3 separate regions of the Homo sapiens genome follow, and regions 2 and 3 are each linked to region 1. The links are contacts of gene promoters, found by promoter capture Hi-C in blood cells and fetal thymus (Javierre and others, 2016). All regions are on one chromosome and are shown on one strand. The core of a region is centred on a gene start or on the middle of the fragment in contact, and the rest is flanking DNA. Distances in the headings are between cores, read along the strand shown.

Region 1 (3,524 bases), core at 595-3,094:
GGGGGATCACTTGAGGTCACGAGTTCAAGACCAGCCCAGGCAACATAGTGAGACCCCCATCTCTACCAAAAATAGTCAGGTGTGGTGGTGCACACCTGTAGTCCCAGCTACTAGGGAGGATGAGGTGGGAGGACTGCTTGAACCCAGGAGCTCGAGGCTGCAGTGAGCTATGATTAGGCCACTGCACTCCAGCCTGGGCAACAGAGCAAGACCTTGTCTCTTATAAATAAATAAATAAATGAGTCCCTGTCAAGAAGTTGGAGATGGGGAGGGGAACTCCTCACATACAAATAATTATATTGCATGCTGCACTGTAGTAAAAGGAGATATACTAGGCACAAGGGTACCAAAGCAATCCAGGGGAAAAAGGAAAGGTTGCCTGAAATAAGTAATACCTCAGTTTTAAAGGATAAGAGTTTATTTCCAGAGCGGGAAAAAATGCTGTTCCAGGCAAGGCTAGCTACTTATGTAAAAGGAGGGAAGAGTGATGCAACAAGGTGGTTTTGGGGACATACAATTCAGCATTGTCAGTCAAAGCCCCAAATATAAAACTACAGAAGGAAGCAGAGGGCAGATCACGCTTGACAGTATTTAACTGGGGAAGCTAGGGCTAGGTCCTATCTGACTTTGTCAGTAGCACCGCCTCTTACTTACAGCAATTACTTAATGTCTATTTATTCAGCAAACCATTAACATCTCCAGTGATTTCGGTTTTTGCCCTCTTCTGCTCACTCACCAGTCAAACAAAGAAGAGAACTAAGAAACTTGGCTACTAACCCCCTCTAACATGAGCATATTCGGAGTGATCTTGATATGGCGATTACTCCAATAACCTAATGGGTCTCCAGTTTTCATTCTCCAATTTGTTATCCACCACAGTAACTATGATTTTTTAAAGTGCACATCAGATTGTCATATTTCTGCTTAAAATGATCCAATGGCTTCCAACCGAATCATTTTAAATTGATTTGGAGTACAATCAAAACCTCCCAATACAGCCTAAGAGGTCCTGCCCAACGCCTGCTCCTCCGATACCATCTCTTAACCACTATTCGCGCAAGTGGCTATACCTTTCTGTCAATTTCTCCAAATGACCAAGCTTTCTTTCCGGCCGCAGGTCTTATGCTCCTATTCCCTGTGCTCGGTACACTCCTCCTCCTGCTCTTTAAAGGGTCGTATTTCATGACACTTAGGCTTCGAGTTAAATTCCACCTCCTAGGGAGGCCATCTCTGACTAAGCCTCTAATGTCTAACGCGCACCCTCACAGCCTCCTGTCTGCATTGTTCTTAGCACTTATTATTTGCAATTACATACTTGTTATTTTTTGACTAATGTCTGTCTTCCCCACCCAAGTGAGTTAATCTAGAGCATGGCCGTATCATTACTTTCACGGAATGAAAGTGAATTCTGGAGTGTGGTTAAGTGGGAAGTGCAAATTCTCTTTGACTTTTACCCCGACCCTATAGCCCCAACTAAGAATACCCCAGGCCCGGATTCAAACAAAGAGAAGAAGGCACGGGCACTCCTAGGAAAAGAAAGGCATCGGGAGGAGCACGCGCCTCAGAAACCTAAAAGCAGAGTGAAAGGAGCTGGCGACAGGGTGCGCGGCGCCTCACGCGGATGAATGGGAAACGCGCGAAGGAACCAGCAGGCCCCGCGAGGCTGGTCTCCCTCCTTCTCTTTCTCCCCGCTTCTCCCGCCGTTCTCTTTCTCCTTACCATCGTAACCACGGCCGAATGTTGCAGGCTACTCTCTGCCGACCAGGCCGCCGCCCGTCCCTCGTGACTACAGCAGGTACCGCAGGTCCCGAGCCGCAGTTTCAAGAGAAATGGCCGCCAAACAGGACTATGACCTTTCACCTCCCACCACGGCCCTTCCTGCCTCTGTGATTGGACGCAAAGAGGTGCGTGCTGATTGGAGGAGATGGCTGGCCCAGTATCTCCTAGCAACCAGCAGCGGCTTGGGTTTGCGCCTTGCAGGCGGCGCGCGGACCTTGGGAAACCGGCTCTGAGCATCGCTGTGAGGCAGCCAAGGACTGGAGGCAGGCCGGTGTTTTTAAATGTGGTGTCCTTCCTAGAGGGCGGTCTGGGAGAGGCTGTGTAACGGATGTGACTTCTCCCCAACTTGGCTAATGGGGATTTACTTTGTCTTTTTACACCCGTGAGAATGTTCGGGGTCCCAGAGTTCCTTCCTCACTCTTCCAACAGGTTCCATGATTTGGGGGCGCCTCTGCCGCAGGCCCTTTCTACCTGAGTGTTCTCTCTTCTGCAACACCCGTTTTAACCCCTTTTAAAGGAATTGGGGGCTAGCCAGACTAGACTAGGGGCGGCGAAACGCACTGAAGAGAGTTGGATACAGAATTTCTTGCAAACGAGGTCGAGTTGCGTCTGGGATACGGTGTCATGCCCCACCCCCGCCCCACGACCCTGCCGGCCCCACCTTTCTTTTGCTTCGCCTGCAGAAACCCGCACGGCCTTCATACGTGCATTTGAAATTACCTAAGGGCGTAAGCAATATTTCCTCTGTCACGGATTAAAACTTTCGATGTAACGGTGTTATCTGAATCTCACTAGTTTTTGTCGTAATCCTATTGAGTTCGGGTCACTCTGATCTGAAATGCTAAATGCAGTTCTTGGAGAACACGCCCTTTGGGAAGTAACGCTTTTTTGCGGCCCTGAAGAGATGGATTTGGAGTTGAGGATGAAATGTTGGGTGTTGAGGCATTGTGGAGCAGTGGGCAAGACTTTGGAGGGGGCCTGCATTCGGAACCTGCGTCTATCAGGCGCGGCCGGTGTTGGGCAGTGTCTTAACCCCGAGGGCCATTGTTTCCTCGGCAGGAACGCGGCTTTAAAAACGGAACCATCCTCAGGGTGGTTGCGAGAATTTAACGTAAAACGGGGCTTGGCCTTGTAAAAGCTCAGTGTTTCACGTAAATGTTGAACACTGACCAGACAATGATTGTCAGTGTAGTTTTTACCAAACAGTTATTAGATTTATTCACCCTAAACTTCAGTGGATTTCTCCGTTTGTCTATTGTTTTATGAACTTTAAGTCTTTGTATAGACTTTGAGTTCCTACTATGTGTCAGGCTTTTTCAACAATCGTGGAAATCTTACCTTACTGTCTGATTCGGGGTGACAGCCCCGTTTAAGAGATGAGGAAGTAGGCCCAGCAGGTAACTGTTACCAGTTGAGGGTAGCTGTCCGAGTTCTTGGCGTTTTCAACAAAGAATTGGACAAAACGCACAAACAAAGCAGGGCAGCGAAAGCAGAGATTTATTTTAAATGAAAGTACACTCTACAGGGTGGGCACCGCCTGGTGCAAGCGGCTCAAGAGCATTGGTTATAGAATTTTCTGGGCTTTAAATACCCTCTAGAGGTTGCCCATTGGCCCACAACCAGTCTGATTGGTTGCGGGAGGGGACCAATAAGAGGTACTTTCATTTTTCAACTGCCACGCAGAAAAAGGAGGGGTTGAAATGGGAGTAGCCTCTGATACCCAGTCAGCATGGATGGGCCCTAGG
Region 2 (3,427 bases), core at 916-3,415, 2.6 Mb before region 1:
GCACGCGTCACTATGCCACTAATATTTTGTATTTTTTGTAGAGGGATGGTGGTGGTGTTGGGGGGTGGGGGCTCTCCATGTTGCCCAGGTTGGTCTTGAACTCCTGATCTCAAGCTCAGCACCTGCCTTGGCGTCCCAAAGTGCTGAGATTACAGGTGTGAGCCACCATGCTCCGCCCCCTCCTGATTTCTTGGAAGGTCAGATAAACAACTTATTTTCAGCTTAGTGGTGTGGAACTCCAGCATGAGTGACTCTATTTTGGTTTGTCTGTTGGGCCTAGTGTAGGAACTCAGTTCAAACCAATGACTTACTATACATTTTATTTAATACCATTTAATCCTTATTTAAATCCTATGAGTTTGCTATAATAATTTTCTCCTTTTTACAGTGAGGAAACTGAGGCACTGGAAGATGAAGGCTACAGAGGTAGAAAGTGATGGAGGTATGTGCAGAATACTACGGGATTACAGAGAGGGAAGGGCTGGAGTGGTCAAAGAAAGACCTATTTTTAGCTGGGCCACCAAAGAATGATGATGAACTTAGAAAAAGAATGGGGGAAATGTTTTCCAGCACTTAGGGAACAGAGAAACATTAATACAAAGGCTCAGAGCATGTGGCAATTTGGGAAAAGTGGCAATGCGGGAAAGAGTATATGGTGGAGGGGCTGCTGCTTAGGGGACTGGAGTGGCAGGGGGCAGGAAATGTCTTCACCTTTCATTATAATGCATGACTGGGGAGAATTAAACATCACAATCTTTGAGGAACTGACAGGAACCTTACCTATCTTCTTGATCCTTTCGTTATACAGATAAGGAAACTGAGGCCAGACAGCTCCAGTGATTTAACTAAATTCCTGTGGCCGAGAACATCACCTTTATCTGTTGCTGTAAATTAAGGAATCTGTGGGCTTAGTGATTAGGTGTCCCTCAGAGGTTTTCAGGGCCTCAGATCTTGCCATCACTTTCCTTAGAGTTATCTGTTCCTGGGCTGGCCTAAGCTTCCTGTCCTTTAAGGAACCTGCCTGCCAACATTGGCCCCAACCCAACAGGAGATCAGTGACCTCCGTTTTCCTGACTTTTTTCCTGCCCTACTGACCACCTGCTGACCTATCCCGGTTAATAGCTTTACTGATCTGTCTAGCTTTGAGGCAAACACTAGCCCCAGTGTGAGGAACAAAGGGTCCTGGTGACCCACACCCCCTGGCCCTTTGGCATTCAGTCCTCAGGCTACCCAGAAGGACAAATTATTCAGCCTGTTTGGGGTGGGATGGAACAGTTTCTACTTCTTTTCTTTGGATTTTTTTTTTTTTTTTGAGACCCGTCTCACTCTGTCACCCAGGCTGGAGTGCAGTGGTGTGACCTTGGCTCACTGCAACCTGCGCCTCCCAAGTTCAAGCAATTTTCATGCCTCAGCTGCCCGATTAGCTGGGACTACAGGTGCGGGCCACCATGCCTGGCTAATTTTTGTATTTTTAATAGGGATAGGGTTTCACCATGTTGACCAGGCTGGTCTCAAATTCCTGACCTTGTGATCCGCCTTGGACTTCCAAAGTGCTGGGATTACAGGTGTGAGCCACTGCGACAGGCCTTTTCTTTAGTCTTTCCGTGTTTTCTAAACACAAAGCAACAGAAAAACTTCTGCTTCAAATGCATGACTCAGGTCTGGCATTCAAGTTGCTGCTATTTTGGGAAAAAAGCTGCCTGTAGCTTTTGAAATTTCTTATTCTCCTACCTGTGATTAACTCATATGATTAGCAAAGTTTTATTATCAGAATTTATCAATAAAATGAAGTTAGTGATCTAGAAAATAAGAAGAGAACCAGCACAAAATAGCACGCAGAATCCCATTTTTTTTCTATGCATTTGTAAGTACTGGAAACGTCTGGTGGCTGGGTGCGGTGGCTCATGCCTGTAATCCCAGCACTTTGGGAGGCTGAGGCGGGAGGACCACTTGAGGTCAGGAGTTCGAGACCAGGCTGGCCAACAGAGTGAAACCCCGTCTCTACTAAAAATACAAAAATTAGCTGGGCGTGGTGGTGGGTGCCTATAATCCTAGCTACTCGGGAGGCTGAGGCAGGAGAATCACTTGAATCTGGGAGGCGGAGGTTGCAGTGAGCCTAGATCGCGCCATTATACTCCAGCATGGGGACAGAGTGAGACTCCGTCTCAAAAAAAAAAAAAAAAAAAAGGAAGAAAGAAAGAAGAAAACATCTGGAAAGAAGTAGCTGAAGATATTAAAAGTAGTTATATCTGGGTTAAGAGTGTGTTGATGATCGCTGTTCTTTTTGCTATTCCACCTTTTCTAAATTTTCTACTATGTGCATATATTGAACTCAGAAAAGCAAACAATAAAATTTTCTTTAAAGTTATTAATATTAGGCAAAGCAAATAGCTCAAATGTACATTTGTGATAGTCCTCTTAGCCTATGACATGTTGAGTAATGTATTCTAGTTTGGTTTTCCTTGTTAGCCAGATTTCATTATTTTGCAGCTTAAGTTGTTTATTTCTAGTTCCTTAAGGTGGGGAGGAGGTGAGGAGGTGAGGAGGGTGAAGAAGCAAATTCCACTTCAGTAAAACAGGGCGTGCAGCCTTTTCCCCTGAGTCCCTTTGTCTCAAGGCCCCTGTGTTCCGGGTCTTTTGTTGTTCTCTGCATGGACTTTGATTCGAGATTTAAAGAAAAACAAGTGCTGGCCCTCCTTGCGCCCTCTGGTGTCCCAGTGAGGTATAACCGGACAAACCGCACAAAGATCACAGCCATTTTCACACAGCGCTCCCCCGACACAGTGATGCCTGGAGACGGGAATGTCTGGAATCTTAGAGGAAGGAATCACACACCGACAAGCATGGCAGGCTTAGTCTTTGAAACTTAATCAGAGCCTGTAAGTATGGATACTGTTTTTTAAAAAATTAAAAGCAGTATCTGGACTGCAAGTATTTAAAAAACCTAATAGGAAATAAGTCAACTCTCAAAGCATTTGGCACAGCTTTCTGGGTTCTAAAACTAAGAAAATCTTACTACATATGTTGTTTTATAAATACAGCATAAACCAGTACTTTGTTATTTGTTTTAAAAATTTCTTTTAGAGACAGGGTCTTGCTCTGTCACCCAGGCGGGAGAGCAGTGGTGCAATCTTAGCTCACTGCAGCCTTGAATTCCTGGCCTCGGGTGATCCTCCATGCTTCCGCCTCCCAAAGGACTGGGTTTACAGGTGTGAGTCACTGTGCCTGGCCTAGAACTTTGGATTAATTGCAAATAAATTAGGTGAAAGAGAGGTCTGGATACCTAGGCTTTAGCTTGACTGAGGATAATGATTTCCGCAACTTTAAGCTTTACCATGTAGACCAAAAATAAAATTCTAAGCTCCCCAATCAGTTGAATGGATGCCTCCTTGTCCAGGGGCATTCCAAAGTTACCTGAAACGCTAGT
Region 3 (3,612 bases), core at 709-3,208, 2.8 Mb before region 1:
ATATCAAAAATAATTTTGGGGGCCAGACCCAGTGGTTCATGCCTATAATCCCAACACTTTGGGAAACTGAGGCGAGAGAATTGCTTGAGGTCAGGAGTTTGAAACCAGCCTGGGAAACATAGTGAGACCGTGTCTACGAAAAATTTTTAAATATTAGCCAAGTGTGGTGGCATTCGCTGTAGTCCCAGGTACTTGGGAGGCTGAGGTGAGAAGATAGCTTGAGTCTGGGAAGTCAAAGCTGCAGTAACCCATGATTATACCACTGTGCTCCAGCCTGAGAGACAGAGCAAGACCCTGTCTCTCTAAAATGTATGTATTATATGTGTTTTTTATGGGCAGATTCTATAATTATTATTTAAATAGTTGCCTCTTAGTTGCTCTTGTGAAATCTTTTGCTGCAAAAATTGAAGCAAATGTACTTTGGTTGCTGTTTATTGCAAAATATTTATTCATAGTAAATTTTGAAATAAAAATATATCCCCATAAGACATTTGTAAACATTTTCCAGATAAAAAGCAAGTATTTGGCATCTTAAAATACTTAAAAGCTCACTAGAATTTTGACAAAGCCATTGAGATCTTTACCACTAAAACACGTAATTCAGCATCTAAAAGTCGGTCTATCAAATCTTTATTAAATGCTTTCCGTACTGACACGGCCCTGGTGGTTAAAATACAAGTGCATATGTGTGCCTGTCTGTGTACTCTTAAATACTGCTTACTCTCACTCTTCATCTGATTAAGTTGGAGGGAAAAAATCTGAACCCTTCCACTGCCCAAGAAGGATTTCAAGGAATCACACTATATCATTGTCTTCAGACCATTTCCTATGTGGAAAGAAAAGAGAAATAATACATAAGAAACTTAAAAGTGTGTTGCTTTAATATCTTCTCTCTGCTAAATAAAGGCCTGATAGGCCAGGTGTGGTGGCTCCCACCTGTAATCCCAGCACTTTGGGAGGCCGAGTTGGGCGGATCTTGAGCTCAGGAGTTCAAGACCAGCCTGGGCAACATGGTAAAACCCTGTCTCTACAAAAAATACAAAAAATTAGCCAGGCATGGTGGCGCATGCCTGTAGTCCCAGCTACTTGGGGGGTTGAGGTTGGAGGATTGCTTGAGCCCCGGAATTTGAGGTTTCAGTGAGCTTTGATTGCACCACAGCACTCAGCCTGGGTGACAAAGTGAGACCCTGCAAAAAAAAAAAGGCCTGATATATCCTATGTCATCTTGACAATAAACACTGGAGATAAGTTGCCCAAACCCATATGGCTTGAGTGTCAGTTTGCATAGCTCTTTTCTAAACTCTTATAGAAATTTTTCAGGTAAGAATTGAGGTGATTCTACTTTCAGAAAGTTAAAAAGTTGTTAAATTACTAAACAAGACACAAAACCTGTCACTCATGCTTATTTAATTACATAGAAATTTAATCAGCTGGAATTTCCATTGTGAAAATTTTGTTTCTTATGGAAACTTCAATAGATTTTTTAATTGCTTTTTTGTTTTGTTTTGTTTTGTTTTGTTTTGTTTTGTTTTGAGAGATGGAGTTTTGCTCTTGTTGCCCAGGCTGGAGTGCAGTGGCGCAATCTCAGCTCACCGCAACCTCCACCTCCACCTCCCAGGTTCAAGCAATTCTCCTGCCTCAGCCTCCCGAGTAGCTGGGATTACAGGTGTGCGCCACCACGCCCAGCTAATTTTGTATTTTTAGTAGAGACAGGGTTTCTCCATTGGTCAAGCTGGTGTCAAACTCCCAACCTCAGGTGATCTGTCCACCTCAGCCTCCCAAAGTGCTAGGATTACAGGCGTGAGCCACCGTGCCTGGCCTAAATTGCCTTTATAAAAGTTTTTTATAGTATCTGTTATAATTATGTACAAAAAGTCAAAAGCTCTTTAAGCAAGTTGTATAACTCTGGTTTTTGTTTTAATTATCCAATATAATTTTCTCTATAAATCATACTGTAAAACCTTGGCTAACTCCATTTCCAGCTTTTTTCTTTGTGTTAGTAGAGTTTTATCTAAAAGACAAGGGTATAATTTAAATGTCCTGCTTCTTAAAAATGGAATATGGTCAAGGTTTTCTTGAAAACTAGGTATTGTGCTAAAACTGAGGCTATAGATGGTATGAAACATAGGGCTAAATGGGTACTGACCCTAATAGTGGCCCTGGAACTTCTTTCCTTGCAGAAGGTCCGTAACAGCTTCCTTTGGTTATTTGCCTCTTTTTCATTATTAAGCTGAAATAGAGCCAGAGGAAATCCTGAATTTGTAAGTCCTCAGTCAGCTGTCTGCCACCATTTAACGTTCCTAAAGGAGCTATTCAGAGGCAACACACACCATTAATTACCACCATGCACTGTAGGAAAATGTAAACCATTCATTATCACAGGACCCTAGATAGATCTGTATGAGGTCTCTATAGACTGCAATGGCTCATGAAGGAGTCAGGAAGATTCTTTTTGTAAGGCCTACGCTAAAAGTAGCCTGGGTCCCTTTCTCCTGTATCTCACTCTTCCACAAGGCCATATGATATGATAGTGAGAAGAGGCCCAAAAACGAGAGTTATTTTTATTTAGTGATTTATAAGTGGTCTAATCCATCTATTCCATCCTTCATTTGCCATAAACACAACCCAGTTTATACTTAGTGTTCAAAGGGGGACAGGCCTGGGGCTTCTATCAAGTGCAAGTGGTCGGGAACCCTGCTTCCCTTATGCAATCATAGGCATGTAGGAAGGATGGAAGAGTAGCTGCACAAAGTAGTCCAAAAGAAAGATAGCTGGTCTTGTTGATGGGCACCTGTAATCCCAGCTAGCTGGGAGGCTGAGGCAGAAGAATCACTTGAACCCAGGAGGCGGAAGTTGCAGTGAGCCGAGATCACACCACTGCACTTCAGCCTGGACAACAGAGTGAGACTCCATCTCCAAAAAGAGAAAAAAAAGGGGCCACAGTACTTAAAGGAAATAGCTGATGTGCTATGGCTCTATTGTTCCAGGAGCTTTTATAAATAGCAATAACTAATGTCTACAATAACTCGGCCAGGCATGGTGGCTCACACTTATAATCCCAGCATTTTAGGAGGCCAAGGCGAGAGGATCGCTTGAGCCCAGGGAGTTTGACCTGCAGTGAACTATGATTGTGTCACTGTAGACCTCTTCCTCTTCAGCTGCCTCAAAAAACGAACAAACAAACAAAATAGCCAGATCTCCTCTCTACAGAATTTTTTTTTTTAATTAGCCAGTGGTGGTAATGTACCTGTGGTCCTAGCTACTTGAGAGGCTGAGGTGGGAGAATCACTTGAGCCCAGGAGTTCAAGGCTGCAGTAAGCTATGATCAGGCTACTGTACTCCAGCCTGGGTAACAGAATGAGACCTTGTCGAAAAACAAACTACAACCCTATGAAGTATTGGCTGGGTGCTCTGGCTCACACCTATAATCCCAACAGTTTGGGAGGCCAAGGCAGGAGGATCACTTGAGCCCAGGAGTTCAAGACAAGACTGGGCAACATAGGAAGACCCCCATCTCTATAAAAAATTAGCCAGGCATTATGGCACACGCCTGTGTTCCCAGCTACTCAGGAGGCTGAGGGGGTAGGATGGATTGGGCCTGGGAGGCTACAG

What was found. The method cuts DNA at HindIII sites, captures the fragments that hold promoters and counts their contacts. A CHiCAGO score of 5 or more calls a contact.
Region 2: a fragment that was not itself captured here is called in contact with the fragment with the promoter of SNRPF in region 1 in 1 of 17 cell types (activated CD4 T cells); the score reaches 7.5 in activated CD4 T cells.
Region 3: a contact is called between a fragment that was not itself captured here and the fragment with the promoter of SNRPF in region 1, in 1 of 17 cell types (fetal thymus). The highest score is 5.6, in fetal thymus.

Annotation. Positions count from the first base shown.
Region 1 is chr12:95,857,272-95,860,795 of GRCh38, reverse strand. SNRPF (small nuclear ribonucleoprotein polypeptide F) reads right to left here and starts at 1,844. Exons shown (of 4, transcript NM_003095.5): 1 at 1,720-1,844. The coding sequence starts at 1,722. SNRPF-DT (SNRPF divergent transcript) reads left to right here and starts at 1,957. Exons shown (of 3, transcript NR_135014.1): 1 at 1,957-2,042. RefSeq lists enhancers at 1,522-1,571, 1,602-1,831, 1,952-2,011, 2,062-2,121, 1,520-2,135. The HindIII fragment of the contact is 4,587 bases long and covers 1,102-3,524 here.
Region 2 is chr12:98,490,446-98,493,872 of GRCh38, reverse strand. It overlaps LINC02453 (long intergenic non-protein coding RNA 2453), which reads left to right. Exons shown (of 4, transcript NR_038383.1): 3 at 389-442. Among named protein-coding and RNA genes, the nearest start is that of TRD-GTC1-1, 11 kb to the left of the region's middle. RefSeq lists a silencer at 3,048-3,342. The HindIII fragment of the contact is 2,331 bases long and covers 1,000-3,330 here.
Region 3 is chr12:98,638,363-98,641,974 of GRCh38, reverse strand. All of the region lies in intron 1 of IKBIP (IKBKB interacting protein), which reads left to right. Among named protein-coding and RNA genes, the nearest start is that of IKBIP, 4.6 kb to the left of the region's middle. The HindIII fragment of the contact is 4,214 bases long and covers 1-3,612 here.